4 separate regions of the Homo sapiens genome follow, and all the other regions are linked to region 4. The links are contacts of gene promoters, found by promoter capture Hi-C in human tissues and cell types (Jung and others, 2019). All regions are on one chromosome and are shown on one strand. Each heading gives the region's core, a stretch centred on a gene start or on the middle of the fragment in contact. The rest is flanking DNA. Distances are from core to core; before and after follow the strand shown. Region 1 overlaps LINGO2 (leucine rich repeat and Ig domain containing 2). Region 2 has its middle 5.5 kb from the start of LINGO2. Region 3 overlaps LINGO2 (leucine rich repeat and Ig domain containing 2). Region 4 holds the start of C9orf72 (C9orf72-SMCR8 complex subunit).

Region 1 (3,788 bases), core at 900-3,399, 1.4 Mb after region 4:
CTTAGCGTATGGTAGAGTTAAGGTAAAACATCTAACTATCCTGACATGGAGCATATTTTGTTTATTTGTTTTTCAGTAGACCACATCGCCTCCCATGAAAGAGTTTAATGTATTCCATAAAAGTAATGTAGAGTCCCCAGGATGAACTGCTTTCAATGTCAGGAAGAGTTCTTTAAACAACAGTTAAAAGCAGCATTATTTGAAAAGAAAAATAAGTAGAGTATATTGTTTTTGCCTTTACCGAGAGGTAGGGGGTACACTTTTAACTAATACCCACTTACTGATGCATAAAATTGAGTCCTCCCTTTACTTAAAGAATAGAGAAACATATATTGAGAGCTGAGTTATGTGAAAGCTGCTTATGATCATAATTACTCTTCAAGATTTCACCCATTTTGGAAAAGAAGAAATGAGGCACTGACGGTATTTCACGCATGACCATACAGTCTGCAAGCTGTGGGACTAGACTGTATCTCTAATGCCAACTGCCTTACACTGAAAATCTTCTGTTTCATGAGCACCCCTAGAGCTGAGTCCTACTTGCCTTGTTTGTTATCTGCCTTGAGGCCCAAGGCAGTGCCCAATTCACACTCAAATTTGAGGGCTTTGCTGAGTTCTTATACCTAACACAGTTCCCAAATAATTATTTTTTGAAAGACTTAGGAAAATGGCATGAAGTAGAGCCTAAAGAATTTAACTGAAGCAATATTGTAAGGAAAAGTCAGTGTTGGAGAATACAAACTATCCTACCACTAGGCCAAGAACCAGTTCCTAGGGGACTGAAGAAAATGAGAAAACTGAAGCAGAAGGAAATAAACCTTGAATCATTTCTGGTAGTAAATGTGAGAAGAATAAAACCAAATATGACCTGGGGCATTCCTCCACATTTCAGTCACCTTTTCTTTTAGAGAGAGAAGCTAGTTGCATGGGATGATCATGTTATTACTGTTGAATTTCTGACTTTTTGCCACCTACATCATTCAGTTATGTTTTATCACCTTTTATTCCCCCTGGCAACAAGATTGACCATTAGTCTGAGTTGACTCTAGATATCTAAGGGAAAAATGTTATAATTCATCAACATAGTCTTGTCAGACAAGGTTAGGATGTATTTCTGATAGACAGGAAGGGAACAGGTGTTTTTAATATCACTAAAACTGTAAGATGTATAGCATACAATCTATTTCTTCTCTTTCACCTCTAGCAGAGAGCGAGAAAGAGAAAGAGAGAAGACAGAGAAGATTTATGCAACTTCTTGATCATTTTCAAATAAGTTTTCATAAGAAGCTTTAAGGAAGTTTTATCAAAACCCTAATATTAAGTAAGTACTACTTTGTTTTATTCAAATAACATACATATATTAATGAAGTCTTGCACACCAAATTGAACATTGGATTGAACTTTTAAGTTTATATTATTTGACACCCTGAAGTAGACTTTTCAGTCATACTTTTATCTGAACTTTATAATGGACTAATGAAATCACTAAGAATGTTATAAAACTAGAACAAAATTTGCAACATTTAACAGATGAGCCACAGATCACAGACATCGGTACAAAATTGATAAATAATTAAACAGATCTTTTAGACTTACAGAAAATAGACATGCCGAGTTTTTGCTCTAGAAATTGATTATTAGGACATTTCCCTTTCAAAAACTGGAGTGGCTGGGCTATATCTCCTTTTACTTTGTTACAAAGCCTGGATCCCTTTTATCCTGTTACAATGAACTAGGAGATGAAGAATCACAGTAGATCCCAAGTGACTTTCCCAGGGCTAAATTGCAAGCAAGGTTTCTTCAGGTGTTTCTTGTTAAAGTAAAAATCTCATTGTAATGAAATTAATGTTTACTTGTCTATCTTACTTACAATATTAGAAGCTACCCTACCTTCTTAAAGGTAAAAATAATGTTACACTTCACTTTTGTACTTCAAAAGCCTATGACAGAGCCTGGCATATGTTAATAGCATGTAATAGATGTCTTTTGGATGAATTGGTGTTCTTTTAACCTCTGTGTTCCAATATAAATGCAGAGAATGAATTAGATCTCAGAAGTCCTTTTTTAGGTATTAAACTTCATATCCCAGATTCCATAACTAGTTTCATTTTTAAAACAAAGAATTATCTTCATGTTTCTTGGAACTTGTATTAATTTTGATGTATAAAGTGCAATTTTAACACAGCTGATGATACCTTGAAAAAATGTGACATGGCAATCAGATCTTTATTGTTATCAAACCACGACAGAGTGCAATTAAGATATATGCCTATGGGTAATAATAGTTTCTAGTAGACACATGCTCCCAAAGGAACATAGTGATTCTTATCAGAAGTCAGAAATAAAAGAGAATGTGGGAGCACAAGTATATAACATAGTGATGCCTTCATTCAATCAATAGTTATATGTAAATTTTTTTTGAAAGTAAGACAAAATCATTAAAGAAAAAAATACTTGCCCTGGTAGAGATCACATTTTACTGGGGTTATAGATAAATAATAATAAGCATAGCATAGTAGTAAATTATTTATACATTAGAAGAAGATCAGCACTGTGTTAAAAAAATAAAAAGAGCAGATTAAGGCATATTGGATGTCTTATGTGACACAATTTTACAGAGTGGTCAGCACATCCCTTATTGAAAAGGTAACACTTGAGTAAAGTCTTCAAAGGAAAGACTAATATCTGAGGAAAAAAAATCCAAGCAAGAGTAACAGCAAGTATAAAGACCAGGGGCAGGTAGTGGGCCCTGTGCTGGTAACTGAGACTGAAGCAGGGCTAGGAAAATTAACATAAATAGAAAGCAAAGTCTAAAAGGTAACGGGACATAGTATTACTTTGGCTTTTGAGCTGAAGAGAAATAAGAAATCATTAGATGTTTTTGAGCTGGTTTGAAATTTAAAAGACGACTTTGGCTTCTGTTTGAGAAAAGACTAAAAACAGGTAGAGGTGAAAGCAGAAAAACCAGTCAGGAAGTGGCTCTAATAATTCATTACCCTGTTCCTGATAACTTGGACCAGGGTAATGGTAGTACAGATAGTGAAAAGTAACAGGCTTTTGATTATGGTTTCCAAGAAGAACTAGAAGGATTTGCTAATGAATTGACGTGGGTATGAAGGAAGAGAGGAGATTCAAGAATGATTCTTAGGATTTTGCCATGGAGCACCCAAGAGTGGAGTTACCATTAAATGAAATGAAGCAGACAGTAGCTAAAGCAAAAGTTTTGTTTTTGTTTTTGTTTTCCTTTAGAAAATTAAAATATCATGTTTCTTTGTAATGAGTTTAGGATGTCTATTAGACATTTAAGTAGGCAGTTACATCTAGAAATCCGGAGCACAGAAGAGAGTTTGATCTAGAAATATGTGTTTATGATTCATCAGCATATACTTCGGATTTCTGACAATGAGATGTGTTCACAAAGGAAGACAGTGTACGTGGGAAAAGAAGGATAGGAAGGGGAAGAAAGGGAAGAGAAGGGAATAATAGTGAAGAGAAGAGATGAGGTCCTAGCACTAAGCTTAGGGCACATCAGTGTTAGGAAGGCCAGAGAAAAGAAGAGTGAGCAAAAGAGATTGAAAAGAAGTGGCTGATGAGACATGCTACTGAAGGGCCTAGACTACTGGAAACCAAGTGAAGAAACTGCTTTTAGGAAAAGGAAGACATTTCATTTGCATTTCAAAACCTCACCTTGGAGTAGGGAGCAAGATGGTAGAATACAAGATTCCACCAATGGTCCCCCTGAAAAGGACACCAAATTAACAAGTATTTACACAAGAAAAGCACCTTCA
Region 2 (3,677 bases), core at 1,075-3,574, 1.6 Mb after region 4:
CTCTTATGTAAAACAGAGGAGGCTATTATAAAATCTCAGTTGTGTAAGATGAATAAATTCTAGAGATCTATTGTACAATAATGTGCCTATAATTAACCATACTGTATTATACACTTAAAAATGTATTAAGAGGACAGATCTCATGTTGGCTAATTGCCACAATTTTAAAACTAATAAAAATAAAAGCCTCAGAACACAGACAACACTGAATACAGAATGACATAGGAACATGCCATAGAAATGTGTTATAGTTGTCAATTTCAACAGCTCATATTATAAAACATCTTTTATACCTTGGATCATTACAGTACAAATACAAAATATCCATATCATGGAAGATTAAGCTGCTATGTAAAATAATGAGGAAATTCTCCTTAATTGGTATAAAAAGGTCTCCATGATATTTTTAGGTGAAAATTGCAAGGTGAAGCAAGGTGTTGTCTCCAAAAATTAATAAAATTGGTTGGGGTCATGGTGTAAGTGGGCAGATGGTATCAAAGGTAGAGGTTAGACTTTTTATGTTCTTTTGATTTTGGAACCGTGTGTAAGTTTTACCTTATAAAATAAAAGAGTGCCTTTGAGGGGTTGCATGGAAAGAAAAGTATAACAGATGTATCTCCGCCTTTTACTTAAAAAAGATGTTTGTTGCTGTTGTTGTTGTTGTTTTTAAAAAGGGTAGGTGAAAGTTGTGAAATAACCTGGCCTGCAATACATTTGCTCATTTACTCCTGCCAGGGAGAGACCTTGAGGGAAAGAAGCAAAAAGGGGTTTCTTAGTTCAGACTACTGTAACAAAATACCACCGCATGGGTAGCTTAAATAGTAGGAATGTATTTCTCACAGTTCTGGAGTTCTGTGAGAAACATTTTTCACAGTTCTTGGAAGGCCAAGATTAAGATGCTAGCCAATTTGGTTCTTGGTGATGGCTCTTTTCCTAGCCTGCATACAGCTGCCTTCTAACTATGTCCTCACATGGCCTTTTCTCAGTGTGTGTTGGGGGGAAGAGAGAAAAAGAAACAGAGACATTTCAGCCACAGTTTATATAGCAACTAATCCTATCATGAAGGTCCCACTCACATGACCTGTCTAACCCTAATTACCTCCCAAAGGTCTCATCTCTACACACCACCACATTAGATGTTAGAGCTTCAGCACATGAATTTGGGGTGGGAAGAAGGTACAACGTTTAGTCCATAACAAGTGAGCAGGTCTAATCTCCTTGTCAATTCTACCTCCCCTGGGTAAATAGACTAATGGTATTTGCTAGAAGGAAGAGGGTTGTCTTTGGGCCCTTAGTAGGATATCTGACTAAGGATTACCTATAATAGATAGAACCAGAATTTATAAGGGATGGCTTCCTGGAAAATGGCATATAGTGTTTGCAGTGCTGGGGTATAAAATGGAGATGTTTTATAATTGAAGCATTACCAACTGTATGAGGAACCATGCACGCCTCACTTGGAGGCTTTATGTATTCTGGGCTAAAGAGATGTGGCTTTCACAGGAAAGAAAGACCTGCAGAGCCATTATTTTGAAACTTTTGATAAGCCTTTTGTTTGTACCTTTGAAATTATTTAGTTTAGGCTAATACTGCTTATGATCTCTGATTCATGTTAGTCTGATTTGAGAAATTCACTCTTAAGAAATAGCGTGAAAAATGGCTTAATTCAAAAAGTAAGCAACTTAAATGACACCTTTTAGGTACCAGAAATACTCTAGGAGAACTAGATTTATTTATTCACTTAATCCTAACAACAAATCTAATAATAATTATCTTCATTGTATAGATGAAGAAACAGTCACAGAAAAGTCAAAAAGCCTTGCCAAGGTCACATAGCTGCTTAAGTGGTACAGTCAGGGTTTAAACCGTGGCTGTCTAACATTAGATCACAGCTTTTTAACCTACACCAGAAGGTTCTATATTAGCTATAAGGTCTGTTAGAACAGGGACTTGGCTTTACTGTTGATTACAGGCTCAACAGGCCAAAAACGGTACATGGATCCTGACTGGATAAAAACCATGGACAGTAGCGAGACAACTTAGTATACCTGTTTGCCACACACTGTGCTAATTGCGTTATGTATGTTACCTTGTTGAATTTTTTTTTTTTTTTTTTGGGACATAGTCTCACTGTGTCACCCAGGCTGGAGTGTAGTGGTGTGATCTCCACTCACTGCAACCTTTGCCTCCCGGGTTCAAGTGATTCTCCTGCTTCAGCCTCCCAAGTAGCTGGGATTACAGGCACCCACCACCACACCCAGCTAATTTTTGTATTTTTTGGTAGGGATGGGGTTTCACCATGTTGACCAGGCTGATCTCGAACTCCTGACCATGTGATCCACATGCCTTGGCCTCCCAAAGTGCTGGGATTACGGACATGAGCCACCAAACCCAGCCTTTTATTGAATTTTTAAAACAACTCCATGGCTTAGGCAATGTTATTATTACTCTGCTAATGATCAACATGAAGTTAATTGTTTCCTCAAAGTCTCGCAGTGGTTCAGTACAGAAACAGAATCTCAACTCAGTACCATTATGCCACATTGCTTTTAACCTAAACTATTATTTTATACAATAATATTATGTTGTAATTAAGTCTCTTGCTTACAATTCTGTCATTATTCTAGTGTTCAAAACACATGCTACAATGAAATAAACAGATCAAACATAGAGTCTGAATAAATATCTTTCAAAGCAGTGGAGTGTTTTGCTGAAGAAACTACTCAAGTGTCAGTGATTTACCACTTGTCATCCTCCTAATATAAGTGGGTGTCCTGGTGACTATTTCTGATATTTTTTTGACAAGGGAGGAAATCAGACAAGGTAGTGTGGTCAGGAAAAGAATCATAAATTTTCCTTTCTTTTTACAACAACTTTGGCCCATTTGATTTGTTACAAAGAAGTGGTGTTTGTTTTCTTCAACTGTCTCTCCATTTGTCAGTCAGTGGATTCATAAGCCATCCTATAAAATTTCAAAATGCCATTCTCTGTTGCACATTATAAAAATGAAACAACAATAGAAAGCTTTCACTTCTACCTTGGTTCAAATTTCCCTTTTCCTTAAATCTTAAACATAAGGCAGTTCTTGCAATGGCAGTTGAAAGATGACACTGGAGCTGTCATCTAGGGGCCAGCTGCTGATGAACTCACATACCAGGACAAGGAGTTTAAAATTCACCTTGATGATAATGGGCAGTTTATAAGCAATTTATCTGCAAATTCATGCATCTCTGTGTTATGGTTAATCTGCAGTCTTTGGAGTTAGACCTCCTGGATTTGAATTCTGGCTCTGAGACTTGCTAGGTCTAGGACAAGGGTGCTGTAGAAGCACATAGGAGGGCCCTCTGAATCATTTTAGGGAACATGGGAACAGGGAAAGATCAGACAGGGTAGTTCAGGGAATGCTACCCAGAGAAAAATATTCTAAGCAGAATTGCAAAGGAAGACTTGGCAGAAGCCTGAATATGCAAACAAAGAGGTCGAAAGCTGTGTAAAGTTTTCAAAAATGAGATAGGGACAGAGGGTAGGAGGAAGAGAAGAGACATCTGTCATTGTGGTAACTGCAGACAGATGTTTAAGCTAAAATTTAAGTAGTTACTAACTCCCAGTACCTAAGAATGTAACTATATTAAAAGAGCCTTTAAAGAGGTGATTAAGTAAAAAGGAAGCTATTAGGG
Region 3 (3,946 bases), core at 535-3,034, 1.2 Mb after region 4:
GGCAAGATTTAAAACACTTTAAACAGCAAGAAACTTGAGCTTTCTCTTTTGATTTTAATTTCAATAATAGAGCATGAGCTGTTCAGGAGGTTCAAGTTTCTATTCTTATAATAGTTTTCTACACAATATAAGGTACATATGTAAGCTATGCTAGTATAAGTTTATATAAGACCTCCTAAAACGGTTCACTGAATAGCAAAAAAGAAAGAGGATTCCTCCTGGAATGAAATACATGTTTTGCATTTTTTGTTAGTTGAATTTTTTTTGGCCATTGCCAAAACGTATCCAACAAAAATCTCATGCTTGTTTGCAAGGCAAATATTAGAATTATTGTACATACATATGCCCATGCCTATACACATTTCACACACATATATATACACACACACATTATAGAAAAATGTGATTGGTATATTCTCATTTTATATATGTGATGTCACTGATGTGCATGATTTAAAAGATATCTTGTCAGCTCTGAACTTAAAAAAAAAAGCAGAGCAATTAAACTTTTCTGGCACTAGAGGTCGCTAAAACCAGATTACAGATACAGTGACTGCACTTCTAAATCCACAGGGAGGATAGCTAATTTACAATCCAATATGTAGTGGTAAAGGATCAAAGTAAATTACGTTCAGGAATATCTACATTATAACACAAAGTATTGCAAAGTTCAATTTTTTCAGTGGGAATCAACAAAATTGTGGGTTTTTCAAATCAAATTAATAATAAGGAAAATTAATGTTTCCCCTATTTTAACAGCTGTATATATTTAACCAAAATGAAAGCGCTGGACCTTAAACTTGACTGTTTATGTGTTTTGCATTTCAAAGACCACACAGGAACAAATCGTCGAATAAGTAAATTGTTTGTCAAAGCTTTGCTTTTTTAGTATGCCTGGCAATAAACATGTTAACAGAGTCAACTGGAAGAAGGGGAGGGGAGTGACCAATAATGTGTGTGCGGATATTGCTGGTGATGCTGCCAAAGTGAGCATAGGAGGCAAAACAGAGTTATGAGTTGTGCCTTAGAGGAGAAGCTTTGCTTGGCAGTCACTGACTGCTGAGCCGAACTCTGGATTCTCTGTTTCTTAGCACAGGAAAGGTCCCGGTGTTTTGGTTGTGAAAAGCCACCCATTTTCTAAAGCTGCTCCCTACATTACACAGTTGTACCACCACTTGATTTTGGAGAAGCACATCATTGGTTCACTCCCTTCAAACAGGGATTCTTTCCATTTGTGAATCTCACTGCTATCTGAGCCAGGTTTCTGAGCCCCAAAGATAGTGGAAACTATCTGTGCATAGGTACTGAATCTTTAGAGTGCATGGCCTGCCTGATAATTTTCTAAAAGGTCCAATGGCTTCTTTAAATACCAGCATGGTTTGGAAGTCACATAGTTCCCTGGTCAATTATGTTCTAGATGCCATGGGAAAGAATACATATCTTTTTGGGCCTCAAACTTCCTGAACATTAAGTAAGATCACTGGACTATGGGGCCTTAAATATTATAAGTCTAATGTTCAATGAACTTACATGAGTCCTGCCTGAGAAGAAGAATTTCATGATTGACATCTGCTAAGAACTATTAAAGATGTAATTTTAAGAAATGTGCATACTGATAATGATTTGTACTTCTTAGTTTATTCTCCATGCAAAACTATTGGCCATTCTGAAATATTATGATATTTTCTAAATTTGGGGAAAATATACTTTGTTCGTTCACTCTTTGTTTGGAAAACCTAGTTGGTTATGCCTTGAGACCCTAGTGGTGACATCTTTAATGAGAATAATGAAAAAAATTGTAACATCATATATCTTCTCCTTTGCTTCAAAATCCAGAAGGACATTTGAAGTGCTTGAGGGCAGAAATCAGCAATTTTCATGTCACCAGTCCCTGGCTCATGGCAAGCACTCAGAGTGTGTGTTTGATGGGTTCATCAAAGAAAGAGTAGGTTTGTTTATTAACAACATGGTTTTGAGGATCCTGAAAAAGTCAGTTTATGGAATACTTTTGTTATAAGTCAAAATCTAACTCTTGAATAAGCCCCTGGCTTCAGTGAGGAAACAGTGAGCTTTAGTGATCCTTAGGATAGGAGAATGGTTGAACGACCACTTAAGTGGTGAAAGATGAGAAACAGTAGCCAAAAGGAGGCTATCACAATTTTTTTCTCTCTTTTTCTTTCTGCCTTCTTATACTTTAATGTGCTAGCCCATGAATCAAATGAACAAAAGCTTTATTTTACAGACATTTTGAATCAAAATAACTGACTCTAAATTGTAACTCTAGAAATGGCCATTTAATTGTTCTGCCTGTCCTTTAGAATTATGCAAAAACTAAATAATGAAAACTAACAATGCAGAAAGTTTACTCAAATTCAATATTCAAATATTACTAATTTAACCAGTAGCTATAATCCTTCCCTAGAGTATCTTCTCAAAAGAAAAAATATTATGAGCTGGTAACCATGCTGGAGCTGTTTCCTTTCATGCATTCTCCCTCTCTCTATTCCACAAAAATTGTTAAGGGCACGATGCATACCAGGTACCATGTTAAGCACAGAAAATACAATGATGAACTAAACAGACACTGTCTTTCCTTTTCAAAGGTTATTGTAAGTCAAAGAACACCACTGGTCAAGTAAATAAGCAATAACGATGAGTGAGATTTGTGTCAGAACAGAGGAAGTATAGAGTATATAGAACCCCAGTCACACAGCTGCCTCTTTTTTTTTTTTCAGTCAACTTGTCAGACAGAAGTTACTCCATAATATGGTTTGGATTTGTGTCCCTGCCCAAATCTCTTGTCAAATTGTAGGAGTGGCCTGGCGGGAGGTGATGATTTCCCCTTGGATTTCCCCCTTGCTGTTCTCATGATAGTGAGTTCTCACGAGATCTGGTTGTTTAAAAGTGTGTGGCACGTCCCCCTTTGCTCCCTCTCCCACTTGCTCTGCCTTGGTGAGACGCGCTTTCTTCCCCTCCCCTTCCGCCATGATTGTAAATTTCCTGAGGCCTCCCAATCATGCTTCTCTACAGTCTGTGGAACTGTGAGTCAATTAAACCTCTTTTCTTCATAAATGACCCAGTCTCGGGTAGCTCTTCTAGCAATGTAAAAAGGGATTAATACACTCAGTAAATATTTGATGAATTATATGCATGTTGAACAATTGAGACTGAATAAAAACAATCATTATTTCAGAAGAAAGGGAGGCATAGAAACTTGAAACAATACCTCTAAAACTGAAGAAAAGTAGGCAGGGTCCTATTTTAAGATACTCAACCACCAGTTTACATTCTAGGCACTAAAATTCCCATTCTGTTTTCTAAGCTGTTGAAAGCTGGAGCAACAGCTCAAGTGACGATAAAAGAGATATGAGGCGATACAAGATCAGGTATTGGGAAAAACAAAGTTTTCTGTAGCTCAAACTGTGTGCCAGTGAGGTGTTTATACAAATTCTCCAGAAAGATATATATTGATTTCACTATTTTAATACGAGAGAGTTACAGGCAAAGGGTACTCTACTTTAAGAGAAGAGAGGTGCAGGAATGTGCGTCATATAATCTCACAGAAAGATCTTTTGGTCTAAGACAGAGAACAGAATAAGGAAAATCTCATGATGTGGGTAGGAGACATTATAAATTTGTGACCCATCAGTGGCTGAGTTGCTCGTGTTAAGTCCTGGCCATAACTATGCTGGCTCTGATAAGCTGCCAAAGCAAGGGACTTCCACAAATAAGACAGTGTATAAATTTAAGGTATTAAATCCTTTTTTATTTCATTTTAAAATCCTGATTTCTCTTTTTCTGACAGCACATCCCATAGTTCCTTCTGCCTTCTTGCTACATTAGAGAGCAATAATGAATGTCGAGTTTTGATGGGTACCATGAGGACCCTTCTCTATAGTGCATAGTCCATGTGGGTCTTTCTGATATGATTGATAGTGGCATAGAA
Region 4 (4,271 bases), core at 120-2,619:
TGCCAACATAGCCAAACAAAATATTTTATCAACTTCATAAGGTGCTTGTAATTTTTTCCTGGAGCAGGTAAATGCTGGCTTAGTGAACAATCTGGAATGTGGTAATTACTCTCGTTCTTGTTTCAGATGTACTATCAGCATGTAGCAGTTTCCAACTGATTCAGGGTTTTCCTAAAGTGGCAGGCCTTGGCAGAGGTGGTGACAACAATGCCCGTGTCAAATGACACCGTATTTCAAGTATTCTGACTCCAGGTTATTAATATCCCCTATATGATAGTCTTGTTTCTGTGATATTCACAGATTATGTTAAAAGTTTCCCAAAGTCTGAGAAAAATCATATCTTAACAGTATCTTTTTTTTTTTTGATCCTTTGTACAAAAGTAGAAGTAATGCCAGACAGATTACGTACCCTTGTTGTGAACAACTGGTGCATGGCAACTGTTTGAATAGAAATTTACCAACTGCCACAACCAGGCAACTACTCTCCCAGAGCCTAACAATCTCGATTGCATCTGAAAGGGCCACCCCTCCTGGGAAAGTGCAGGACCTCCCTCCTGTTTCTGAATACAAAGCCTGGTGGTGTTCAACGCGGCCAGATAGACCCAATGAGCACACGGACATGTAATCTGTGCACTTCTTTAGACAACTGATTACCATCAGTCAAGTGATGCCCAAGTCACAATAGTCACTTCCTTTAAGCAAGTCTGTGTCATCTCGGAGCTGTGAAGCAACCAGGTCATGTCCCACAGAATGGGGAGCACACCGACTTGCATTGCTGCCCTCATATGCAAGTCATCACCACTCTCTAGAAGCTTGGGCTGAAATTGTGCAGGCGTCTCCACACCCCCATCTCATCCCGCATGATCTCCTCGCCGGCAGGGACCGTCTCGGGTTCCTAGCGAACCCCGACTTGGTCCGCAGAAGCCGCGCGCCGCCCACCCTCCGGCCTTCCCCCAGGCGAGGCCTCTCAGTACCCGAGGCTCCCTTTTCTCGAGCCCGCAGCGGCAGCGCTCCCAGCGGGTCCCCGGGAAGGAGACAGCTCGGGTACTGAGGGCGGGAAAGCAAGGAAGAGGCCAGATCCCCATCCCTTGTCCCTGCGCCGCCGCCGCCGCCGCCGCCGCCGGGAAGCCCGGGGCCCGGATGCAGGCAATTCCACCAGTCGCTAGAGGCGAAAGCCCGACACCCAGCTTCGGTCAGAGAAATGAGAGGGAAAGTAAAAATGCGTCGAGCTCTGAGGAGAGCCCCCGCTTCTACCCGCGCCTCTTCCCGGCAGCCGAACCCCAAACAGCCACCCGCCAGGATGCCGCCTCCTCACTCACCCACTCGCCACCGCCTGCGCCTCCGCCGCCGCGGGCGCAGGCACCGCAACCGCAGCCCCGCCCCGGGCCCGCCCCCGGGCCCGCCCCGACCACGCCCCGGCCCCGGCCCCGGCCCCTAGCGCGCGACTCCTGAGTTCCAGAGCTTGCTACAGGCTGCGGTTGTTTCCCTCCTTGTTTTCTTCTGGTTAATCTTTATCAGGTCTTTTCTTGTTCACCCTCAGCGAGTACTGTGAGAGCAAGTAGTGGGGAGAGAGGGTGGGAAAAACAAAAACACACACCTCCTAAACCCACACCTGCTCTTGCTAGACCCCGCCCCCAAAAGAGAAGCAACCGGGCAGCAGGGACGGCTGACACACCAAGCGTCATCTTTTACGTGGGCGGAACTTGTCGCTGTTTGACGCACCTCTCTTTCCTAGCGGGACACCGTAGGTTACGTCTGTCTGTTTTCTATGTGCGATGACGTTTTCTCACGAGGCTAGCGAAATGGGGCGGGGCAACTTGTCCTGTTCTTTTATCTTAAGACCCGCTCTGGAGGAGCGTTGGCGCAATAGCGTGTGCGAACCTTAATAGGGGAGGCTGCTGGATCTGGAGAAAGTGAAGACGATTTCGTGGTTTTGAATGGTTTTGTTTGTGCTTGGTAGGCAGTGGGCGCTCAACACATAATTGGTGGATGAAATTTTGTTTTTACCGTAAGACACTGTTAAGTGCATTCAAAACTCCACTGCAAACCCTGGTAGGGGACAGCTCCGGCACTGCGGGCGGGAATCCCACGGTCCCCTGCAAAGTCATCGCAATTTTGCCTTTACATGTAAGAATTCTCTCAAGCATGATTTTCACACTGGGGAATGTCATTTTTGCTAGTTGCAATATGTGGATGAGTTGTTTTTTTTTAACTTTTGAAAAACGTACCATTCTGTTTGATGTGTAAAAAACACAAAGATTTTTGAAACCTTGCGTCTTTTGGTCTGCAGGTGTATAGATTCCACTTACTACAGATGAGTAGCATTTACACCACTCAGATGTGTAAAAAAACAAAGGTTTTTTAAACTGTGTGCCTTTTGATCTGCAAGTGTGAGATGGCACTTACTACAGTGAGTAGCATTTAATCTTTTTCATCACTAAAAATCACACAGAACGTTTTAATCATTCACCGAGGAAGAAAGGGAGGAATAAATACACAAAATGGCTCTCAACGTCTACACCTTCTGCAGAAACAGACCCTTTTCCTACTGTTCTATGCTTTGTGAAAGTTGATCATACAAATTGGGTCATTCTTTTTATACCCAACTAAAATAGTGGGGGTAGGGGGTAGAAAAGCACTTAGGACAAATGACACTGCTCCCACAGTGTAATTCTCTCCAAGTCCAGCTGCTGCAACTGCCCGTTGTGACCTGAGACCAGTTTTATCTAATAGTTGCTAAAATGACCTGCTGCAGCTCTAATTTTATCTACCACCATCACTCACCAGTTGAAACTCACCAGCTCCTCAGATCCTTAATAGTGCCAATGAATTTTCTCAAAGAGCACTATGTAACATTTCTCTTTTTTAACAAAACCTCCCCCTTTTCTTTGTTGTGTGGATATACCGAAGACCATCTGATCTACATGTATGCCCTAATTGCAATTCTTTCTTCCCAAATAAATCACTTAATTTAGAGATTCATCTCTGTATTTTTATTTTGACTGACAGCTTATAACAAGTAGCTAGCATTTACCAAGTTTCTACACTGAGTTGTACTTCACTTATACGTGGAATTAAAAAACAACTGAATTTATAGAAACAGAGTAGACCCTTGGTTGGGGGGCTTGGGGGGAAAGAAAATTGTAGGGTAGGGTACAAAGTTGCAGTTACGTCTAATACATCTAGAGATTTAATGTACAACATGAGGACTAGCGTTAATAATTGTGTTAGTCCATTCTTACACTGCTATAAAGAAATAACTGAAACTGGGTAATTTATAAAGAAAAGTTTAATGGCTCACAGTTCTGCAGGCTGTACAAGAAGCATGGCTGGATCAGCTTCTGGGCAGGCCATAGGGAACTTAAAATCATGATGGAAGGCATAGGGAGACCCCAGACTTCACATGGCAGGAACTGGGGGAAGAGAGAAATGGGAGGTGCTACATACGTTTAAACAACTAGATCTTGTCAGAACTCACTATATAGTACCAAGAGGGGACTGTACAAAACCATTAGAAGCCACCCCATAATCCACTCACCTCCCACCAGGCCCAACCTCCAACACTGGGGATTACAGTTGAACATGAGATTTGGGTGGGGACAGAGATCCAAACCATGTTATTCCAACTCTGGCCCCTCCCAAATCTAATGTCCTTCTCATATTGCAAAATACTGTCGTGCCTTACCAACAGTTCCCCAAAGTCTTAACTCGATCCAGCATTCATTCAAAAGTCCAAAGTCCCAAGTCTCACCTGAGACGAAGCTAGTCCCTTCTACCTATGAACCTGTAAAATCAAAAACAAGGTAATTGCTTCAAAGATACAATGGGGGTATAGGCATTGGGCAGATACTGCCATTCCGAAAGGGAGAAATCTGCCAAAAGAAAGAGGCTATAGGGCCCCATTGCAAGTCTGAAAGCCAGCCGGGCAGTCATTAAATGTTAAAGCTCTGAAATAATCTCCTTTGACTCACACCCAGGGAACACTGATGCAATGAGTGGGCTCCCAAAACCTTGGGCAGAACCACCCCTGTGGTTTTCCAGGGTTCATCTCCCACAGCTGCTCTCATGGGCTAGCATTGAGTGCTTGCAGCTTTTCCAGGCTGCAGGGTGCAAGTTGTTGGTGGATCTACCATTCTGGGGTCTGGAGGACGGTGGCTGTCTTGTCATAGCTCTGCTAGGCAGTGCCCCAGGGGACTCTCTGTGGGGGCTGCAACCCCACATTTCTTCTCCTTGCTTCCCTAGTAGATGTTCTCCATGAGGATTCCACCCCA

What was found. Contacts are between HindIII fragments. The study calls those that stand out against the background at their distance.
Region 1: a contact is called between a fragment that was not itself captured here and the fragment with the promoter of C9orf72 in region 4, in 1 of the 25 tissues and cell types used here (dorsolateral prefrontal cortex).
Region 2: a contact is called between a fragment that was not itself captured here and the fragment with the promoter of C9orf72 in region 4, in 1 of the 25 tissues and cell types used here (dorsolateral prefrontal cortex).
Region 3: a fragment that was not itself captured here is called in contact with the fragment with the promoter of C9orf72 in region 4 in 1 of the 25 tissues and cell types used here (dorsolateral prefrontal cortex).

Annotation. Positions count from the first base shown.
Region 1 is chr9:28,966,626-28,970,413 of GRCh38, forward strand. The region is part of intron 1 of LINGO2 (leucine rich repeat and Ig domain containing 2); the gene reads right to left. Among named protein-coding and RNA genes, the nearest start is that of MIR873, 80 kb to the left of the region's middle. RefSeq lists an enhancer at 3,520-3,788. The HindIII fragment of the contact is 4,046 bases long and covers 127-3,788 here.
Region 2 is chr9:29,217,260-29,220,936 of GRCh38, forward strand. No RefSeq gene overlaps it. Among named protein-coding and RNA genes, the nearest start is that of LINGO2, 5.5 kb to the left of the region's middle. The HindIII fragment of the contact is 4,288 bases long and covers 181-3,677 here.
Region 3 is chr9:28,774,111-28,778,056 of GRCh38, forward strand. All of the region lies in intron 2 of LINGO2 (leucine rich repeat and Ig domain containing 2), which reads right to left. Among named protein-coding and RNA genes, the nearest start is that of MIR876, 88 kb to the right of the region's middle. RefSeq lists an enhancer at 1,029-1,528. The HindIII fragment of the contact is 3,198 bases long and covers 186-3,383 here.
Region 4 is chr9:27,572,112-27,576,382 of GRCh38, forward strand. It overlaps C9orf72 (C9orf72-SMCR8 complex subunit), which reads right to left and starts at 1,370. Exons shown (of 11, transcript NM_018325.5): 1 at 1,320-1,370. RefSeq lists enhancers at 764-853, 1,452-1,979 and a silencer at 1,364-1,443. The HindIII fragment of the contact is 8,764 bases long and covers 1-4,271 here.